2 separate regions of the Homo sapiens genome follow, and region 1 is linked to region 2. The links are contacts of gene promoters, found by promoter capture Hi-C in human tissues and cell types (Jung and others, 2019). All regions are on one chromosome and are shown on one strand. Each heading gives the region's core, a stretch centred on a gene start or on the middle of the fragment in contact. The rest is flanking DNA. Distances are from core to core; before and after follow the strand shown.

Region 1 (4,519 bases), core at 1,163-3,662, 57 kb before region 2:
TCCATTTTACAGTGTGCTGATTGGTCCATTTTACAGAGCACGGATTGGTCCATTTTACAAACCTCTAGCCACAGAGAGCTGATTGGTGAGTTTTTACAGAGTGCTGAATGGTGCATTTTACAAACCTCTAGCTAGTCACCCAGCACTGATTGGTGTGTTTTACAATCCTAGCTACAGAGCACTGATTGGTGCATTTTACAATCCTCTTGTAAGACAGAAAAGTTCTCCAAGTCCCCACACGATCCAAAAGTCCAGCTGGCTTCACCTCTCACAAGTACATTTATTCTGTAGTATTATTTTTATCAATTTAAAAATCTTCATAGTACTTGTCTTTCTTACCCCATTCACACAGTCTCACACAGTTACATATTCCAAGTATCCATACATGCTCAGCCTTTCATGTAGATGCAATCTATGTGAAGAAAAACATAGATTGCTTGCTATGTAACTATAGATTCACAGAACCGGAAGGATCACAGGAGACTGACTACCTAGTGGAGCAGTGTTTCTCAACTGATATTATAGACCTTATTAATTAGTCTTTATTTGGGGGTAGGAGGGGGTGGGATAGAGAGGAGATATCATGGACACTAGAAAATCTAATGAAGTTTGTGAAGTTATCCCAAGAAAAATCCACTCATGTGTGTAAATGTTCATATCATTTATTTATTTGTTTGCATTTGTCATTGAGTTATTTCACATTTTACAAATAATTATGTGACTCATTTTTCTTGTGAAAATTGATGACCTCTTTCTAAATAAAACATAAATGCAAATTACTAACCAAATCATATAAAAAAAGAAAACATATATTCTGCTTAAAATAGTTTTCAATGAGAAGGCTGTTTTATTTGGCTTAGTAAGAAGTTAAAATTTAGGCTACTCTGGAACACTTTGCCTATGGGATAGCCCTGCTGTGTCTATGGAGCAGCCCAAAAAAAAAAAAAAAAAAAAAAAAAAAGGAAGAAGTTAAAATTTAGACTGAGCCTTCCTTTATAGGAAAATATCGGTGTTATTTTTAGTATCCAAACAATTTTTCATCTGTTTTAATAGCACTATGTGCTCAAAGTTGCAGCTCACACAGCTTTCAGTATCAAACAGAATTAAATTCCCTATCAGTCGGAGCAGAGCAGACGTTTATCAAGACACCTGAGCTTTCTCCAAGCTACTTCAGGGTGAATTCAGGTTCTATGAAACCCTTTGTCCTCAAGTCAAATGAAATTATTTTTGGAAAGCTTAGTGTCAACAATGCAGCCTTAGTCAGCAAGGGAAGATGTTTGAATGCTTTCAATTTTATGTAGTCTAAGCAGAAATAACCTTTAAAAGAGTTTTGTAGTCTTTACAGATGTTTGTAGATCTTCTCCATGGATAAACTGACATGTCTTTCTCATTTTCAACTCCCTTGCCCTCACTAAAGTCTTTCTTTCAGCACTTTCATGTCAATGGAAAGGTCACAAGATTTTACCTGTAATTTCTTCCTCCAAAATGACAGTTGTTTCCAGAGCCACCCTACTAGACCAGAAAATCTGAAATTGAAAGACTAGCCTCATTTTTTTTTGACCTAACATCTACAAAGAAGTCCATCCATGAATAAACCTCTCTTGTCAAATTGTTTTAAGATTCAGCTCTCTTTTACTTAAAAAATAGATAAAATGAAATTTCTGACCCAAGTTCAGCCAAGTGCATTAACACTTATTCATTGGAAAGCCAAAAAACTTCTGATAGTAAAAATAATACATTTTGCTTCATTCCCAAATAAAAACTTTTGAAACTCTAGATTTCTGGCTATGTCTGTGAAATTATTTTAACAGAGCAGGCAAAGCATCTTTTTAGAATAATTATCAGTGTCTTTCACACGAATGCATGCTGATGGTGAGGGCAATATGTCTCTATGAAAAGTGGAACCTCTGTCTTCACCAGATTAATTACGCTGGATCTTGCATAAAGAAACTCCATATGTACTCCATATGTACTTGCAGTATCAAGATTTTTGTTCCATTAGGAGTTTTGCTTGATAAACTCTGTTGGGAGGAGGCAACGCACACACACACACACACACACACATACACACACACAGACACACACACACACATCGACATTCAGGTGAGAGATAAAAATCAGAGTTTTACTGAAACAATCATAGTTTTCACTCAGTTGCATGCCAAATGGGAATGCCACAGCTGTTATTTTCACTATAACTGGCTTTGAAATATTGGCAAAATACCAGAGTTCAAGAGTAGGTTCTATCAAGTGAACAGAGGTGCTATTAATTTTTTTTATTCTAATCAACCAACCAGCTCAAGCATTTCTAGAGTACTTGAAATGATAAAGCTTTCTCCAGTTATTTATGGTTTCTTTTGATTGGAAACATGTCAAAAGTTTCATGTTAGTGCAAATATAAGTTTTGGTAAATTTCCATCCTTTTAAAATTGAACTTCTTCTCCAGGGGAAAAAAATCTATATTGTGTGATTTATTTTCAGGATGCTCAGAAATAAGCTTTCTTGACTTCATCCTATCATTGGCAGGAAACTTATCACACAAGAAACAGTCTGGCTTTTGTGTCCCATCACATTTAGCAATGCAAATAAAATCAAAGGAAATGTAGGAGCCATCAGCTTTCTTTTCTCTGACATTTGCCAACTTAAGCTAAGTTTAATGTGAACAGAAAGAGATATGCACAAACATAATGTCAGATGCATTTTCATTAATTCTGATGAATGCAATGCCATTCCAGATGTCATTGTGCAAGGATAGTAACTTTGTGTGAAAAAATACATGCTACTCTGTCCATGTTTAAAGGAAAACATTAAAATATTTTAAAACAATAAAAATATTAAAACATTAAATACATTAAAAAAATATTTTACCATGAACAATTTTTTGCACAAAAAGCAAAGAAAACAAAATAAAGCTAAGTTATATATATATATATATGTACACACACATATATATATGTTTGCTCTTACTTAACCTACAACATAAAGTCTGTATATGATCTTTAACTAAAATATCCCTTTTATAACGTGATCTGAAATACAGCATCTAATCTCTGCTGTTGTTATATAGGAAGTTTCCTGTATTACAAATGAGCCCATTTGTAATAGTTGGGTATTTCTAGTTATCCTTGGTTATCTGGTTATCCTTGGTTATTCTTCCATTTTTCATCCAGTGTTCTGGCATGGTTAATTCTCTTGCCATTTATCCCATCAACTATTGGGTGGTAAATCTTATGTTACACATTACTTTTCTCTTTATGTGGCTGAATATCACCAAGTTCTTAACTTCTTGTCATCTAACAAGGTATCCAGATCTCTTTCTATGCTGGTTGCCTTTTTCTACAACCACTACAATGTGTTAACATCTATCTGAAAATTTGGAGCCATCCATTTAAAAATATTGCATTTTTTGAATGATCAAGAACTACATACATAGGTACATATTTTATTGAATATATAGGAGTGAAATTATATAAAGAAATGCAATGCTAATGGTTTCTCTAAATATTCTTTTGGATTTTTACATATACGATCATATCATCTGTGAGTAATAACAGTACTATCATTTTTCTTTCATTCTTTTTTTTTTTTTTTGAGACGGAGTCTCGCTCTGTCGCCCAGGCTGGAGTGCAGTGGCGGGATCTCGGCTCACTGCAAGCTCCGCCTCCCGGGTTCACGCCATTCTCCTGCCTCAGCCTCCCAAGTAGCTGGGACTACAGGCGCCCGCCACTACGCCCGGCTAATTTTTTGTATTTTTAGTAGAGACGGGGTTTCACCGTTTTAGCCGGGATGGTCTCGATCTCCTGACCTCGTGATCCGCCCGCCTCGGCCTCCCAAAGTGCTGGGATTACAGGCGTGAGCCACCGCGCCCGGCCTTTTCTTTCATTCTAATACTTACACCTATTTTATGTTTTTCTTGACTTATTTTAGTAGCTAGGCCATTCAGAATAATAGTCAATGACAATGGTGATTCTTAACTATTATTTCTAATTTTAGCTTTTTATCACTTAATCCATCAAAATTTTTACAATAGCTACAATTTCTTAATCGTCAACTCTTTAAGCTAGGCACTGTATTAGTCAAGGTATGTAATCTGCTATCTCATTTTATTTAATCTTTCTGACAATCCTATGTAGTTATTATTGTCTTATTTTATCTTAAAAAAGAGAATAAGCAAAACCAAGATCACAGAAATTAAGTAACTTGGCACTAGATTACAAAATGATGTGGTCAAGCAAGGATGTGAATCCAGATTTGTCACCATCCATTGCCAATATTCTTTCTGCACTTTTCCATTATATTACAATAAGCTATGATTCAGTATCAGCTTTACTTCCCTCCCTCCCTCCTTCCTTCTTTCCTTCTTTCTTCTCTCTCTTTCTGTTTTTCTCTTCTTTTTCCTTCTTCTGTTTTTCTTCCCTACCTCTCTCCTTCTCATCCTTCACTCGCTCCCATTCTTTCTTCCTCCAATTCCTCTTTCTCCTATTATCCTTATTTTATCTCATATTGTCACTAATGAGCC
Region 2 (4,538 bases), core at 1,946-4,445:
CATTTTCATGCTTTTTCATTTGTAAAATGAAGATACCAAAAAAGAACTAGCAGCTCTAAAATTGTGGATTATATATTCAGATTTGCTGGGATGCCCTTGGGAGGCTTTGTCAAGCACCTTCTTCCCTTCCTCTCCTTTGCCCACCTGCCACAATTCCTCTTGGTTAAACATCACAGTTTTAGTGAGCTATTGTTACTGACGGCAATCCATCAAGTGTATAGGGGAAAGCTAGGTTGAGAATCTCTGGCCTATGTTATCACTATCATCCTTTCCATGGTTAAAATACTGTGAATCTATGAAATGCACCTCAGTTCACTAGGAAATCACTATATTTTAACATTGCTTAAGTTACTGCTATCCTGAGTTTACTTACACCAACTTAACATTATTTTTTTATTGTACTGTGAGTCAGGGACTATAGCAGACACTGAGAATTCAAAGATGAATTTAGAAATGGTCTCTTCCCTCACGGAGTTCTATCCAATAGGGATAGACAAATGCAACAGAGTGTGATAAATGCTTTAATGGGGCCAAAGCAGCAAGTCAATTTAGAGCGCATCAAAGGGTACCAAAGCAGCCTGGGAGAGAGGTGATCTGGAAAATCTCCCAGTAGGTGACCAAAAACTGAGTCCTAACTCTAATTAATTGAATTATAGACTGCTAAAGCTGCACAGTGTTAGAATCATCTAATTCAAACTCCTGATGTGGCACAGAGAGAATCTGATGTCCAGAGAGGCTGATGTATGCAGAGTGAGTATCAGAGTTGCAGCTAGGACCCAGATATGTAATACTGGGTTGCCTCTTTAAAAATGCACCTTTTTTGAAGGGAAATTTTTAGAACCTTTTCCTTCATCAGTTTAATAATGAAAGTAATTAATCATATTTGAATAAGATACGGAGAACAATATTTATATATATTGACTTTATGCTCAGTGGTGATGCCAATAACCCATCATCTCTTGGTTATAGATTTTCCATGAGCTGCTGATGAATTTTTTCAGACTCATCCACAGGGTAAACCTGCTTGTCTCCTGAGCTACTGCATGTACGTAATTACACTCAGAAGGACAAGTAGAGTTTGGCTGTGAACAAGAGCAAACTTTAAAAATAAATCTTAGTCCGATTAGCACCTCCTCTCATCAACCGACTGAGGCATCTAAGGGCTAAGGTAAAACCCAACATTGAAATATTTGTATTATTAGTAGTAGTGGTAGTATATAAAATGACCCAGGTATGCAATCTTCTTGGAGTTTTTGCTCCTAACATAGTCACTTGATTTGGGATGTTTAACGACTGTGATTTTGTAATGGGACAATATAAGAGCTCATTACATTAAAACATAAATACTTGGGAAGCTCATAGTTTCTGATAGCTTGCCATCTGTTTGGTTCTTACCGGCAATGGATTTATCCTGCTTAGTGCAGATGATGATATTGTGGGTAAAATCATGGATTATACAATGGATTTCTGAGGTCTTTAACTACTGTTATTAATTTTGCCAGCTTACAAATCAACATTTTCTAATATAAAATCAATTACATTTTATTTTTCAACTCTTACCCTAAGAAAGGTTGCTATGGGCACCACAGAACATCTGTTCTGGCGCCAACAGATTGCGTTAAAGTCACCCACAGTCTCTCCAAATTAAAAACCTCAAACTGAGTTCACTGGCTTTGTTACTGTACTCTCAGCAGGATGTTCTTTTGCCTTGCCCATCGTTCAGTTTAATCCTCTAGAAAGAAAATTTTTAGAGGTACATCGGACTAAATCATTTTCTTCTGAGTACACCATTTCCAAATGGCCGCCCAGGGTCCTAAATCCGGCGGCTGCGGAGAGGGACTAGAGGGTGTCCTCCTCTGCAGAGCCGTAGGACTCGAGCGCCTTCATCACTGGACGCTGGAGCCAGGAAGGAAACCCACACACTCAGGGACAGGTATAACCCCACAGGGGTGCACCAGTGAGGCCCCGATCGCAGCGGAGGACTCCATCCCTGAGCTTGTGAGGGCGTCCTGGGGAGGAAGCGAACACTTTCCCCGTTCAAGTCAGAGAGCAGGACTCACTGGGTGGCAGGTCAGAAGTTGAATTTTAACCCGACCTGCGCTTTGTCCCCGCGCCTTCCGCAGCCTGGGCGCCGCGGTGGCACCGAGCTGGGAGAGGACACGAGAGGCTGGCGCGGGAGAAGCCGAGAGTTGCTATCGACCGGGAGCTGCCGGCGGCGGGAGCAGACGCGACCCTCGCCGCTTTCGATCTCGAAGCCGCGGAGAGCCGATCTCGGCTGCTGGGGCTCGGCTCCCCGCGCTCTGCCTTGCCCTTTCGGCAGAGGGCAGCTCCCTGCCTGCTGCAGCCCCGCCACTGTGCGCCCGGCAGCCCAGGGGTGCGCCCAGCCCGCCCCCCGAGTGGCCGCCGGGACTCCAGCAGTTGGACCGACCCTCGCCCTCCGGCGCCTGGACAAACTTCCTTCCTCCCGGGCCCCTGCGCCAAGCAAGCTGACAGGCGGCTCCCTCGCCGGTCTCCTCTGGGCTCTGGCCGGGCGAGCTTGCTCTCTGCCCCTCTCCAACCCCGAGCCCCTGGCGCCTATAGCCGTCCCCGCGCAGCGGCTCCAACAAAGCCAGAGGACCGGAGACGACCCGGCGAGGGGCTGGGAGTGGCAGCGGGGACCCCAGAGCCAGAAGGAGGCGTCCCCTCGGCGGGGCGAGTACAGTGGGAAGGGGCAGCGGGAACGTAGCGGGGAGAGAAAGGGGAAGAAAGTGTTCTGTTCTCGGCGCGAACGCCTTCCTGGCTCGTCCTCGTTCCCCTTCTCCTCCTGCCTGAGCGCGTCCCATGTCCCGTTGGGAATTGGCAGGCGGGGAAGGGAGGAGGGGAGAGGGGACGCGGTGGCCTGGCGAGCGAGCCGCTCCCTTACCTCTGTCCAGGGTGAGCGGCTGGACCACTGTCAATGTCGCCATGTCTGCCGTGGGAGCCGAAGTGACGCTCGGCTTCAGCATCAGCAACCGCTCGTAGTGAGAAAAAAAGGAGGAGATTGGGGGCGGGGGTGGAGAGGGAAGACGGAAAGGAGGGGGAGGAGGGGGAAGGAAGGAAGGTGGTGGTGGTGGAGAAGAAAGCTTGGGTGGGTTGGTAGCCAGATGGAGACGCAACTGTTCCGCGGCGGCAGATCTTCAGTTGCGGTGCGGAGCTGAGCAGGTATCCGAGAGCGACTGCATCGCCGGGCTCTGGGAGGGAAGGCTCTGCCCTAGAACTTTGCTATTCCACCCCCAGGAGCGCTGGGTGGGTGTAGCTGGCGGGTTGCTTCCTTTCAACTTTCCACTCTAATAAAATGGTCAGAATATACGTGTGTGCATGCGGGTGCGTGTGTGTATAAGGGGAAGAGAGAGGATGGAAAGGGGATATGGGGAAGGGAGTGGGAGATGAGTTTTCTCAGATTAAGAGAAATTGCCAATCCAATAATCCCATCCCCTTTAGAGAGAAAATGCTTCCATTATCAGAAATGTTTGGGATGTAATTACATTTGCAGTTAATTTCTGTTGAAGTTTTTCGGAATGTTGACCTATAACGGCATATAAAGATAACTGACTAAAGGCCAGCGTTCCATCAGTAGATGTTCATTTAGGACCTGAGTATATTGCCTGGAGAAAAAAAAAAAAAAAGGCAAACCTCTTAAAAGTGCTTCAAAATAAAAAACGTGTAGGTAAGTTTCTATCGCTAAGTTTTTCTTTTTCAAGCCACTGTTAATACATTACCAATTCAGTAAATGTAGCTTAGAAACAAGTACAGTGTTCAGATTTTCTCCGAATTTTTTACATACCACATCCTGTAAACATGCCCCACTCCCCCTCACCCACCCAGCAACAAAAACTTTGCTCTTAATGTCCAAACTGATTTTGGTTGTCTATGACTACGTTTGAAAAATATGTACCTAGCACTTTTCATGTTGATTTCTAACCAGTGGTTCAGAGATGCCACTTATCGATTGATTAACATATATGCCAGGAATTGAGATAGAAGAGTTACATTGCCTTGTGCCACGCCTTGATTTAGGAGTTCAATTTAGTCTCCGACTTCCTGTAGCCTGTAATCTAGTGGGAGATGGTGTTATTAAAAACCTGACTTTAGAGTCAGTTGATCAGGATTAAATTACGAGAGCCTTCAAATACTGGCTGTGACCTCTTCGCCCCAATAAAAAGGCTACTTTCACTATCTTGTCATAGTAGGGATTCATTTCCTGACTACGAAATCAAGAAACATAAAGAAACCTTCTATAAGCTGAATAGGGGTGACTGTGGGTGCAGGATTGGAAATGACAAAGCTGCCTCCATCTTGTTTCCTGTGACAGAGCTGAATTGTTTGGGCTAACAATAAACTCTAAAAGGCAGATACTGTTTTATAGCAAAATATTTGCATATAATTGATGCCATTTTCTTCTGATTACAGATAGGATTTCTGAAGGTCTTTTTCATTTTATAGTCTACAATTGAATTTTAAAAAACAACATTTCACCAATGTGGGAAAGCCAAAGATGATTGGCCATATATAGACTTAAC

The links. The method cuts DNA at HindIII sites, captures the fragments that hold promoters and counts their contacts. A contact is called where the count stands out against the background at its distance.
Region 1: a contact is called between a fragment that was not itself captured here and the fragment with the promoter of LIN7A in region 2, in 1 of the 25 tissues and cell types used here (mesenchymal stem cells).

What each region holds. Positions count from the first base shown.
Region 1 is chr12:80,878,712-80,883,230 of GRCh38, forward strand. All of the region lies in intron 2 of LIN7A (lin-7 cell polarity scaffold A), which reads right to left. Among named protein-coding and RNA genes, the nearest start is that of MIR617, 48 kb to the left of the region's middle. The HindIII fragment of the contact is 4,263 bases long and covers 282-4,519 here.
Region 2 is chr12:80,934,739-80,939,276 of GRCh38, forward strand. It overlaps LIN7A (lin-7 cell polarity scaffold A), which reads right to left and starts at 3,196. Exons shown (of 6, transcript NM_004664.4): 1 at 2,903-3,196. The coding sequence starts at 2,984. It overlaps MIR618 (microRNA 618), which reads right to left and starts at 1,095; the gene lies at 998-1,095. RefSeq lists a silencer at 2,324-2,533. The HindIII fragment of the contact is 2,607 bases long and covers 1,426-4,032 here.